Linked DNA regions of Homo sapiens: region 2 is linked to region 1. The links are contacts of gene promoters, found by promoter capture Hi-C in blood cells and fetal thymus (Javierre and others, 2016). All regions are on one chromosome and are shown on one strand. The core of a region is centred on a gene start or on the middle of the fragment in contact, and the rest is flanking DNA. Distances in the headings are between cores, read along the strand shown. Region 1 holds the start of SKIL (SKI like proto-oncogene). Region 2 holds the start of TNIK (TRAF2 and NCK interacting kinase).

Evidence for each region. Contacts are between HindIII fragments. The CHiCAGO score rates a contact against its expected background, and 5 or more counts as called.
Region 2: a contact is called between a fragment that was not itself captured here and the fragment with the promoter of SKIL in region 1, in 1 of 17 cell types (fetal thymus). The highest score is 5.7, in fetal thymus.

What each region holds. Positions count from the first base shown.
Region 1 is chr3:170,355,637-170,361,360 of GRCh38, reverse strand. SKIL (SKI like proto-oncogene) reads right to left here and starts at 3,646. Exons shown (of 7, transcript NM_005414.5): 1 at 3,598-3,646; 2 at 1-1,662. The coding sequence starts at 1,029. RefSeq lists silencers at 3,064-3,133, 3,224-3,353, 3,404-3,633, 3,794-4,693 and an enhancer at 4,974-5,073. The HindIII fragment of the contact is 9,771 bases long and covers 2,098-5,724 here.
Region 2 is chr3:171,456,263-171,461,986 of GRCh38, reverse strand. It overlaps TNIK (TRAF2 and NCK interacting kinase), which reads left to right and starts at 1,582. Exons shown (of 33, transcript NM_015028.4): 1 at 1,582-1,980. The coding sequence starts at 1,924. LOC124906303 (a long non-coding RNA gene) reads left to right here and starts at 3,816. Exons shown (of 2, transcript XR_007096168.1): 1 at 3,816-4,041. It overlaps LOC102724479 (a long non-coding RNA gene), which reads right to left and starts at 2,769. Exons shown (of 3, transcript NR_189068.1): 1 at 2,596-2,769. RefSeq lists an enhancer at 381-881 and a silencer at 1,893-1,952. The HindIII fragment of the contact is 3,387 bases long and covers 1,883-5,269 here.

The sequences.
Region 1 (5,724 bases), core at 2,397-4,896:
TTTCTTTTCTTCAGGTGTTCCTAAGTATTTTTGGTTCACATGAAGATAGCAATGCCATTTAGCTGATTCAAAGCCCCAGTGGCAAGTTCTTTTGTCAGGTGATCTGTGAGAATGCATCACAAACGTCTGGGGTGCAAACATTCCACAACACTCCAGACATTGAATACACGGAGCATCAGGCTGAACATAAAACTGGGGTGCAAATAAACCCTGACATTTGCCTAGGCATTCATGCTCCACTTCAAAGGCACTGCCAGTTTCCTTTAACTGGGCCAATGAGCTTTTAGCAGGAAGTACGCTACCATTTTGAGGAAAAGTTCGTGGCCGCAATAAAGCATTACATAATCTTTGTGCATCAGTTAATGTAATCAGCCCACAGGATGGGGCATTGAATGGAAGTATGCCCAGTACCTTTAAGATATGAAGCTGGTCTGAAGTACACCTTGAACAATATATGTACAGTTCATCACACACTGTATTTATTTGCTGGAGTGTAAATTCTCGGAGAACAGAATTTAAGACTTGGGGCAAACAGAGTCTCTTTTCTCCTCCAACTTGAAAACAAGAAATAGATTCCCCTTCCAACACAGTCTGAGTGAGTTCTGTGGAGCTATCTGAAGGGATGAGCAATGGGCCAGGAAGAACCTGAGGTGATGGAAGAGGCAGAAATACAGTAGGCGACATGCTTTCTTGGGAATGCCGAGCAGAAAATGCTGCTGGTCCACCCAGCGAGCTCTGACTACTTAAATGGAATTGTGCCAATGTGTGTTTCAAACTGGGATTTAAATGCAAAGTTTCAGGAACAGAAGTACAGGTTCGCTTAACATGCTCTCCATCAGTTTCCACTGGTGCTTCTCCATAGTCATCCAAGTGTTCCTTCTTAACTGTTGGCACCTTGTTTATCGTTTTTCCATTTGCATGAATGTCCGTTATCATTTTTTTCGCTGGGGGGCTGCCATCATCTCCCATCCCATTCAGTTTTTTAGTTGAGCCCTGAACCAAGGAGAAATTTGTCTGGAGGTTTTCCATGGTACACTCTTCTGTTAAATAATTAAGTCTGAGATTAGCATTTCTATTTAGTTGCTTATTTGAAAAGAGGAAAGTAATGAATGGATACAAATGCCTATCGTAACTTACTCTCAAACTTTCAAAGCGAGAGCCCCTTAAATTAATAAATTTTGCGACTTAGTTTTGGTTCTCCTTATAATCTGGTATAATTTCACTACAAATCCTATAAAATTGTTCGTTTTGCCTCTAATAATAAAGAAAAGAGGCACACCTCTGAGGATGCCTTTGTTTTCTTGAATTCTTCAGATATACATATTAAAATAAAGTTACCAATTTCTCAATTAAAGATGTCCAGGGTCAATGCAATGGTCTGGTTTGTTTTAACCAAAACACATGAAAAGTTTATGCCATTCCTTGTGCCATAAAATCTAGACTCAAACACAAGTCAAAATGATGCAACCAAATTTAATCTTTACCACCAAGGAAACCAAAAAGGAGGGCAGAGGGAGTATTTCCTCTAAAAATGATGGTCTGCTGGTCTGTGCTGAAAAACTGAAGACGTGTGTAAATCCTCACACCAGTAAGAACAGCCTCCGACTTAAAAAATTGCCCAGTTATCTTCAAGGATTATAGTTCATTCTTCTTTTAATTAATCTGGAAGAAGAGAAGGGGGGTTGGGGAAGAGTTACATTTGAATTTGCTCCAGAGGCCAAAGGGCCAATTTGAAACCAGTTTCTTTTATTTTTTTTTTTTTCTTTTTTTTACGGAGTCTCGCTCTGTCGCCCAGGCTGAAGTGCAGCGATCTCGGCATACTGCAACCTCCGCCTCCCGGGTTCAAGCAATTTTCCTGTCTCAGACTCCGGAGTAGCTGGGACTACAGGCACAAGCCACGACACCCGGCTAATTTTTTTGTATTTTTAGTAGAAACGGGGTTTCACCATATTAGTCAGGCTGGTCTTGAACTCCTGACCTCAGGTGATCCGCCCGCCCGGGCCTCCCAAAGTGCTGGAATTACAGGCGTGAGCCACCGCACCCGGCCGAAATCAGTTTCTTAATCTTAAACTGAGTTCAGTTTACCAAGGTGAAGCTTGAGTGATTTCTTTAAATCTAACACCAGTTTACTAGAAGAACATTCATTTAAATAGGAAAGCAATTTGGAGTTGCGTAAAGCGAGCAATAATATAACATAAAAGGCCTTTCGAGTTCAGAATATGAAGACTCTTAAGCAGATCATCTCAATTAGTAGTACCGGGGCTTTCTCAGCTATGCCATTTTAAGGGAGGGAAAAAAATCCATTACTTCATCTCCTATTTAAAAACAAAACAACAGTTTCATCCAAAAAAATCAGATAGGAGTTAACATATCTACCATATGTAACTAAGTTACAATTTTAAGTGGATTAATTCAGCTAGTCCGTGTACACTATTTTTCTGGAATGACTGCAGGCAAAAATTAACTTTCTCTTAAAAAAAGGTTAGCGATTTTACTTAATGGAAGCCAAAAGCTATAGACTCCACGCCTGGGAATCTCCATCCTTCAACAAGACTAATCCGGGACAAAAAGCACAAGGCAGACAAACCTCACAAAGAATGCAAATGGAGGAAGAGGGAAAAAGAAAAGACTCTTTTTCCACTTCCTTCTTGAGAGAAAAGCCAAAAGAAATCCAATAAATAGAAATTTTTGCTTCCCAAACTCTCAGCACTTTACCTTAAAACAGACCCAAAGGATTAAGGACCAATGCCACCAACCATCGTACAGACTTTCGTCCACCACAGGAACACACCTTACTCAACACAGGCCAAGGAAGAGAGCAAGAGGCATGACCTAGAATGGGGGAGCCCCTAAAACCCTGAAGTCCTCCGCCCACTCAAAGCCACCCACCTATCTCTAACCCGGAGAGAGGGAGAACAAGGGACACGGGAAGCCTGGGGGTGGGTGTGCAAGGGGGTGGAGGGAAGTAAAGGGAGGAGTCCCCCCACCCCCACCGGCGAGCCTGGGATAACCCCAAGTGCCCTCCCAACACCGCCCCCCCGCGGGGGCCGCGGGAAGGACTGTGGAAATCCACCCCCCCGCGCACCCTCTCCCTGGGAAGTTCTCGGGTGTCACCTCAGCGCCCCTAATGCTGCACCTCCCCGCGCCAGCCCCGGGCCAGAACGAAGAGGACACCAGGGCAGTTTAGGCGCCGGGCGCGGATCCCTGCGCCGCCGGGGGCTGACGGACCGGGTCGAGACCAGGGCATCCCCGCGGAGCGCTGCTGGACTGGGGGAGGGGGGCGGTGACGGGCGTCCGGGTCTCCGGGGTCCCCGCGGCTCCCGTCAACTACAGCGCCCTGCCCTGCCGGCGCCCACCGCCTGGGGCCAACGAAGCGTGATCAGCCGTGGAACACCCGCCTAGCGACCCCCTCTGGCCCCGACCCCACCCGGGACCCGCGCATCCAAACCCCCTACTCGGGCCTCGGTGCCCGGGTAAGCTCGACGAGCTTTGTGAATTCCCCACCGCCCCTGTCGCCGCCGTCGGGCTCCTAGGAGGGTGAGCGCCTCTGGCCTCCCGCCGCCTCCGCCGCGTCGCCGCCGTAAGCCGGAGCCGCACCTGTGCCCGCCGCCGCCGCCGTCGCCGCTCGCCCGCTCCCTTCGGCTGTGCCGGCGCGGCTCCGAACCCCACACACATCGCTACACACAGCCCTCTGACGTCACCGAGTCCTCGGCCCGCCCACGTCACTGCGGAGACACACAGCTTCCCGCAGACGCCGCCGCCGTCTCCGGCCGCCCGGGGGAGAGCGAGGGCGGCGGGGAGGGGGAGGGGAAGGGAACGGAGCCAGCGGCGGCGCCGCGCGCGCGGGCCCGCCGGCGTCGTCGCCGCCGCCGCCACTTCGCGGCTCCCGGCCCCCTCGTGGACGCGCGTGCCGTCTGGCCTATTGTGGCTCCTCAGAGCGCCCCCCTGGCCCCGTCGTCTCGCGCGCGTGCCCCTCCCCCCAGGCGCGCGCCCGGCGCTTCTGGCCCCGCGCGCCGTCTGGGAAGCTGGCGCGCGGCGCTGTCTGCGGTGCACCCGGCGCAGACAGGATGTTCCCTCCCCACCCCACCCTCACCGCCGCCCTCCCTCCTTCCTTCCTCTAGTCGCCCAGCCGGCTGTCTGGGGCCACCGCCCCGCCCCCGCCCCACCCGCCGCTCTGTGGTGATGGGCCAGACGCGGGGGCGCCCTGGCCGCTCGGACGCCGCGCAGCGGGGAAGAGGGGGCAGGGCAGCCGCGCGGTGCACTGTGCGCGACCCCAGCAGCCGGCAGGGCGGAGGCAGTGCCCGCCCGGCAGAGTGCCGCCGCCCGAGGTCAGGCACGGGCGACCCTCCCCCTGCGGGGCCGCAGCTGGGCCGCCCCGCCCCGGAGGCAGCCGGGCGGCGGCCGCCCTGCAGGGCCCCCGGGGCCGGCTCTGCTCCCCGCCCCCGCGGGACCTCCCTCCTGGGCTGCCCCTCGCCCCCGCGGGGCCTCCTGCCCGAGGGCCGCCCAGCCAGCTGCCGGCGCTCCGCCCCGCCCCGGCGGCCCCGGCCTCGCCCGGGCGGCCTCCACCCAGACGCCTTCCCCTGGCTGACCTCCATCCGCCATCGGGCCGGGCGGGAGGGGTGGCCAAAGTTCCGGCAAAACCGAGAGCAAACATTTCTGTCCCTACTCCCCAGCCTCCTGCCTCCACCCCACCAGGCTGCTCTCTCGGTTCCAGAAGGGAGCTATAAATTAAAGGTTTTTACAGTGTTTACTGAGGGTGTTTTTTTGTGTGTGTGTTTTTTTGGAGAGGGACGAGACGAGGTAGGGAAGATAGGACTCAAGAGCTTTCCGGCTGTGACCCTCTGAGGCGTGTAGGGTGGTCTTCCTGGTTCCCAGGGTAGCCGATTAGCATATTGAACTCTGCAGAGCTGCTCCGTCACATTTCGAAACACCAAGAAATCCCCTTTTCTCCACCCCACCACAAGATCAGGAACTGAAATAGTCCACCGAGTAGCAGTGCACAAAATTCAGGAGACTCGAGCTTTGTCCCTTTTTTCCCCCCCATTTTCGTCCAATTTCTTCTAGTTTTACTGCTTCGGGTTGTTCCTGTGGGGGCCCACATTTGCAGTCGGCCGGCTGGAAATACTCTTGTGCTCGTACTTTTTATTTTTTTTTTCCTCACAACAGGCCTCCGAAAGGCTCACAAGCCTCTCAATCCCCACCACTCCCCGCACCCCCACCCAAGTTCCCTTCCTTAGGCCTCCACCGCCGAGCTCCCAGGTCGTGCCCCCTCTCCACCCCGCCCCCCCACCTTTTCTTCCTTCTTGACTGCCTCCTTTCCTGAACATGAATAATTCCACAGCACTTTCCATCTGTTATTGCCATAGAGACAGAAGCGTGGCAAAGATAATGATGTTCTGTGCAGAGCCAGTGGGGGAAAAACAGCATCTGCGAGTCTAGGGGGATAGATTTTCTAACTGTGAGAATATTCAGAAGGCCTAGCTGAAGATCTGATGTGAAGACTGGACAGTCCTGAAACTTGGCACCAGGTCAACTCTCAGCACCTGGCTCCTGTGTCTAGCCAGAAGTAACAATTTTTAGAAACCAACATGACTGGTTAATAAAAAAGTAATTCCAAAACTGCAATTATTAATAAATGTTTAGCAGTCATTTTACCAGCCATAAGAATAATTACTTGCTAGCATGTCCAAGGACGAAGATAAATTGGACAGTAAATAGACTTTT
Region 2 (5,724 bases), core at 2,327-4,826, 1.1 Mb before region 1:
ATTTCGACGTGGTGGCTTACTGCACGTTACTTACTATGTCGAACCAGATGATTTTAGTAAAAAATGAGTTTAGTAATTTAGTATAACACGTTCAAATGTTTACATACAACGTTTACAGGCAAAAGCTACCAAACTGTTGTGGCCATTGAGATGTTGGAACAATTTTCAAGTTTCATGGTGCATGATCCACAATGCATATGAATACATACAATATCAGTAACAAAAACAGTACAATGTACACCAAAGGTTGTTTCAAAGTCCTCTAATGTCTGCAGTCATGATGAACTAACTGCACTGGCTTTCATTCATTCATTCATAAGACTTATTTTGAAGCTGATCTTCATACTGCATGATTAAGAAACCATCAGTGCAGTGGTCAGAATTACATTCTGCTGTTAACAGAGGAGCAAAGAATGCTTTCAAAGCTACTGCTGTATTTGGAAAAAAGTTCAGTTTTAGTGTTTTCTTTCTAGGTATTTTGCATGGCTAAGGCGGGAGAAGAAGGGCTGCGCGGGGATTGGGGGAAGCGACTTCCCACTCTTGATTACAGAAGGAGAATCATGTATACCACTGTAAAACATCCAACCTTTAAATGAGAAAGTGAGTGAAGTGAAATCGCTCTCACGTACACATCTTCCGCGTTACTTCTTATCCGCCAGCCAAACTTTCTCCATCAATCTGGGTAGGTCTGCCACGAAAACGCAGCCTGAAAGAAATGCTGAGTCCTGAGGCGGCGTGTGTTGCCTCACCCAGTGTTGGCTTTGGAGTTACCTGAAGCCTTCTAGCTACTGCACCCAGAGAGCAAGCTTCTCGTTTCAACTCGGTTGTTTCCGTGGGGAATTGCGGCACGAGCAAGTCCTGGGTGTGGCGATGCCAAGAGAGCGCTCAGATCTCCCATCTTTCCCGCTTCTGGCAAACCTTCCCAGCCCCGAATCGGCGAGTGACCAGCACCCGGGATCAGCCGTCCGGCATTCCGGGGACCGCGGGTGGACCCGACCCCGCCGCAGCTGCAAACTGCCGAAGCGCCCAGCTGGGTGCACTGTGCGTGTGCGCTTCTTCCCTACTCTTTCCGCGCCTGGAGGCGGATCCCCTTCCTTGCACACAAGTCCTTATATGCACCGGTTGCACCAGCCCGCGTTACTCCGGCCCCACAAATAATTAATGGGGGAGGGAGGGTGTCGCTTTTTTTTCCTCCGGCTTTTTCTCAGCGCGAGAGCATTTGAACCGAGGAGAAACCCCAAGACGCGACTGAAGGGCCATTTTGCTGCAGTGCACGAATTGGCCACACAAAAATAGAGCTTGGGTCCCTATGATAACAAGTCAAGGTTCAGGAACAGCCCCTTCGGGTTCGGCCCGAGGAGCCCGCAAAAGCCTGGGCGGAAAGGGTGCGCGCCCCTCCCCCCTCCACGCTGGTGCAGAGGGACCGGGTCAGGAAGCGCGGCCTCTCCCCAGTCCAAGACCACGCCTCCTCCGCCTCCCCACTCCCCCTTCACTCCTCCCAGGAAGCGGTGATAGACAGTTCTGCGTGGTTCTCCACCCCCACCCTCCCCCTGCTGAGTGGAGGAGTTGATGTGTCTCATTATAACAGCCAATGCAGCCGCCATCCACGCACAAGCAAAGAAGCATGTCCCATTTAAATACACCCACGCAGCCCCAGCGCCCTTAGCCGATCGGGGCGCTCAGCCCACACGCACCGCTGCTCGGGGCTTGGAGATCCGCGCAGGCTGGGCTCCCGGACCCGGCGGACCGACGCGCGGAGGATCGGGATCCGGCGCTGTGGGGCTGGGGTGGGCGGGGGAGGCTGGGCCCGGGGCCTCTGGCGCGACACCCGCATGAGGACGCGAGTGAAATAGACCAAGGTGGAATTTCCAAGGGAAAAGCTTCGGGGTGGTTTTGGTCCATTTCTCCAGCGAAGAAGTAGACATGGCGAGCGACTCCCCGGCTCGAAGCCTGGATGAAATAGATCTCTCGGCTCTGAGGGTGAGCAGGACGTTTTCTGGTTTCTTTCCAGTGGTTTGGGTTAGGGTGAATGGGCTCGGTGCGTGGACTGGGGGCTGGGGCTGGGGCAGGGGGACAGCAGCGGGAGAATGCGTCGGGGAGGGAACCTGGATTCCCGTTTTGATTCGGGGTTGCTGAGGTGCTCCTGGCTGAGCCCCTACGGCAGGGGCTGTGCGGTACGTGTCTTCCTCTGGCCGTGGCTTAGGCTCTCCCGAGGGCTCGTAGAGCTTATGCCAGTTTCATCTTATACCGGTGTAAGAGCATTAAAATGAAAGGCGTGTGTGCGTGTGTGTGTGTGTGTGTGTGTGTGTGTACACGCCCCGGGCAGTTGTCTGGTGCCAAGGCGCGAGACCCGACTGTCCCTTCTGCAAAAAGAATGCCAGCGTGAATAAAGGCACTGGCCCCTCACGTTTTCCAGCTACCTGCAAGATGACATTGTGAGGCTGGCTGTCCCCGCGAAGCCGAACCTGCCGCTCCAAGGGGGCAGTTATTGCTATGCTGGTCTTGTAGATGGCAACTGCCTCCCCCTCCCCCTTTTCTACCTCCCGCGCCCGGGCGCCCTCTCAGCGCTCCCTTAAATGCCAGTCTGCCACTCACCTTTATTTATGGCTTTAACTCAGCCCTGCCTGTTCTTTCTGACTTTGTGGCTGTAACGTTTCAGTTTTATGGCTGAACTTAAGCAGGTGAAAGGGATGTGTTTTCTGCTTTTCCTCAATCAGACCGGAACTCCCTGGAGTGTGTGCGAGTGTGTGTGTGTGTGTGTCTGTGTGTGTTTTCCCCGTGTCTGTGGCCAGTCCTTTGTAGAGCACCTCCCTCCCCCCAGCCCCACTGGTTTGCGTTTACCTTCACGTGAATTACCTCAGACGCCGTTTCATTGTATTGACTAAGACATCACTGATATAGAATCCATTTTGCTGTTGTTTTGAGATCAGAATACCAGGAATCCAAGTGCTGCTTCGACGCTTCCCCACCCCCAACTCCCGATCCCAACACACTCCTTTGGGGAAGGGGGCAGAGCTTTCTTGCCATTTTAATTAGATGCTGCCTGCCTGGAAGGGGGTGAGGGGTGGGGATGGTGGCAGCAGCGGGTGTCTGAGAAGGATTGGACACCAATTTAAGGACTGCTTCTTCCTCTCCCGAACCAAAAATAAAATTAAAAAGAAAGCGAGTGCATATACTTGATGTATGGAGGGTGGATGAGAAGGAATTCATGGTGGCTCTCTACAGGGAGACACCAGGATGGATGAAGCATGGAAGTTCACACGCCCTCCTGAGGAATACATTGTTAGATTGATGCTGAATCTTGGGGCCATTTACCTGGATTCCTAGTACTTCTGACATTGCCGCTATCTGCACTGATATATTAAAGTGCTACCTTTGTGATCAAAGTGGTACTTTCTCTTTGGTCTCCTTAATTAAACCTTTTCCTCCACATCTCTTTGAATAAGTCTTTCTCTCTTCGTCTTAATCTGTTGGGCTAAGAGATGAGGTTTCAGCAAGGCAAGTAAGGAGTTGAGAAGAAACAGAGATGCCGTTTGAAATGGGCTGTTCTGATAGTTGGGCAGCCAAAGCTCATTCATGCATTATTACAGGAAGCTGTCTATTTCCCTGGAGTGGAAATGCCACATCAAGAACCGGCTGCCCCCTGCGCAGCGGGGTGGGGTTGGTAACAGGGTGGGTGCATTGGCCAGGTCTGTGGCTTCCTGCTTTACCGACTGTGTGTGTTCATTTGCCCTACTTTCTACGCTGGGAGTTGCTGCCGGCGAGTTAATCAGGTGGATGGATGGCCCCGACTGGGGGTGGGGTGCTGCGAATCGGTCGGAGGTCGGGGTGGGGGGCGGGAAGTGGCAAAGGGGGAAGGGGTCTGAACAATGCGCAGGGCTTGCGGTGATTTCCCTGGGCCGGAATCTCGACCTTGCTCCTCTACTGGAAAGCAGTCTGATGTGATTTTAAGTTGGGCCGGGACTTGTCCCTTATGGGCTTTTTCCTCGGGAAGGTTTTCTGAGATACCAAGCACGGAGCCTGCAGGCAGGGGAGCAACCGGTGAGGGCCCACTGGGCGGACGACTGCGGTTCACACTTGGGATGTGCTTTCTTGTGATCTGTATTTTGAAAATATATCTTTGCACAATTCACTGAAATTGCTCTTTGTGGCCTGGGCTATCAGCTTAGGGCTCTGCTTCTGTTTTTCTGCCTGCTGGGAGGTGTGGAAACAGAGAGGGCAACAGCTAGCTTGGGGACCAGGAACTGCTGGCTAGAAGACTTAGATGCAGATGTGGAGACAGTTATATCCTGGAGGGCCAGGGTCTTTGACCAGTCTTGTGGGTGAGGTGTGTCTGCTGGAGTGGGTCCAAAGGCCACATAGGTAATCTCCACAAATCAGAGGGCAGATCATCTCCACCTTGCCACATTTGGAGAGGTGGCCTCATCTAGATGAGATGTCTCATTTGTTCCTAAGCCCTTGGTAAAGTCTGCCTGCTGAGCCCCTCCTGGGGAATGCCTGACCCCTGAAATGCAGCCAAGGTCAGTGGCTTCTGGGAGAATTTGCTGCAGACTTACCAGTCCCTCGCTGTTTCGGTGGCTCTTTAATGTACACAGTCAATGCTCTTTTTGTAAACCCTGGGCTCAAAGCATTAAAAGCAGATCCTGTCTAGAGAGGCCTTTATCCTTCTCACTTTGGGGGCTTATTGTTCTCAGCCAGTGATTCCAGACCGGACCCAGTCTAAATTTTCCCCAAATAGCAACAATGCATAATTTAAACCAGAGCAACCAATGACAGCACTGATCATTTAAATTATGCAAGATTTGCATGGTTTAAAAGTGAGTGAAGCAGGATCTTCTTTGGTTAGAAAATAGGTACTTTGAATCCAGTTTTAGCCCTGATTTTTAGAGCTCAGAGATAAACTAAATCTTGAGGGATGGGCTGGAATTGTTTTATAGATTCAGAGCTGGAAAGAGAATTGTAGAACACTCAGCCACTCCTTTCATTGAACACTTGGGAAACTGAAGCCCAGAGGCGTGAAGTAAGTTGTTCAAGGTCACACAGTAACAAGGGGAGGGGACAGCGAGGAGCGTGGTTTGAGGAAATAATCTAGATTTCCTGACTCCTCATTCAGTGCTCTTTTCTCTAAGTCACACTTTCTGTGGTGGAATCAGAAATCAATAATACATTTTCTGCCTGAGTACAAAAGAATAGCAGAAAGGAATAATTTCACCAGGGTCAGGGAATTTTATTTATTGAGAATGGCGAAACTACTTCATGCAAGTAAGCTTGTGATACATGAAACCATGGAGCTCTAGGCCACCTTTGGAATTCATCTTGTCCAGCCCTGGTTCAATGCCTACTCTGCAGGCAAACGACTGTCTGAAATCACCTAGGACACATGGTTGTCCTGCACAGGTAACCTCTCTGAGTAACCTGTGTCCATCAGAGCATGTCTCAAGGGGTCAGTATAAACATACATGTTATTCAGATGGCTCTGCATGTGAGGTTTATAGAGTTGTGTGTATGTTTTGTATTATCTATGTGGATACATATATTATGTGTAGTATTATGGATATAAACCGTATCCACGTGGGTGTATGAAAATGTGTGTATACATACATAGGCTACAGCAAACAATTTACTCATTCAAACCTGGGGCTTGAGTCATTCTTGCTTCAAGACATCTCAGTATTAAAAGAGATGAAAGTTGCCACCAGTGTGCTTTATTACATATGAGGCGAG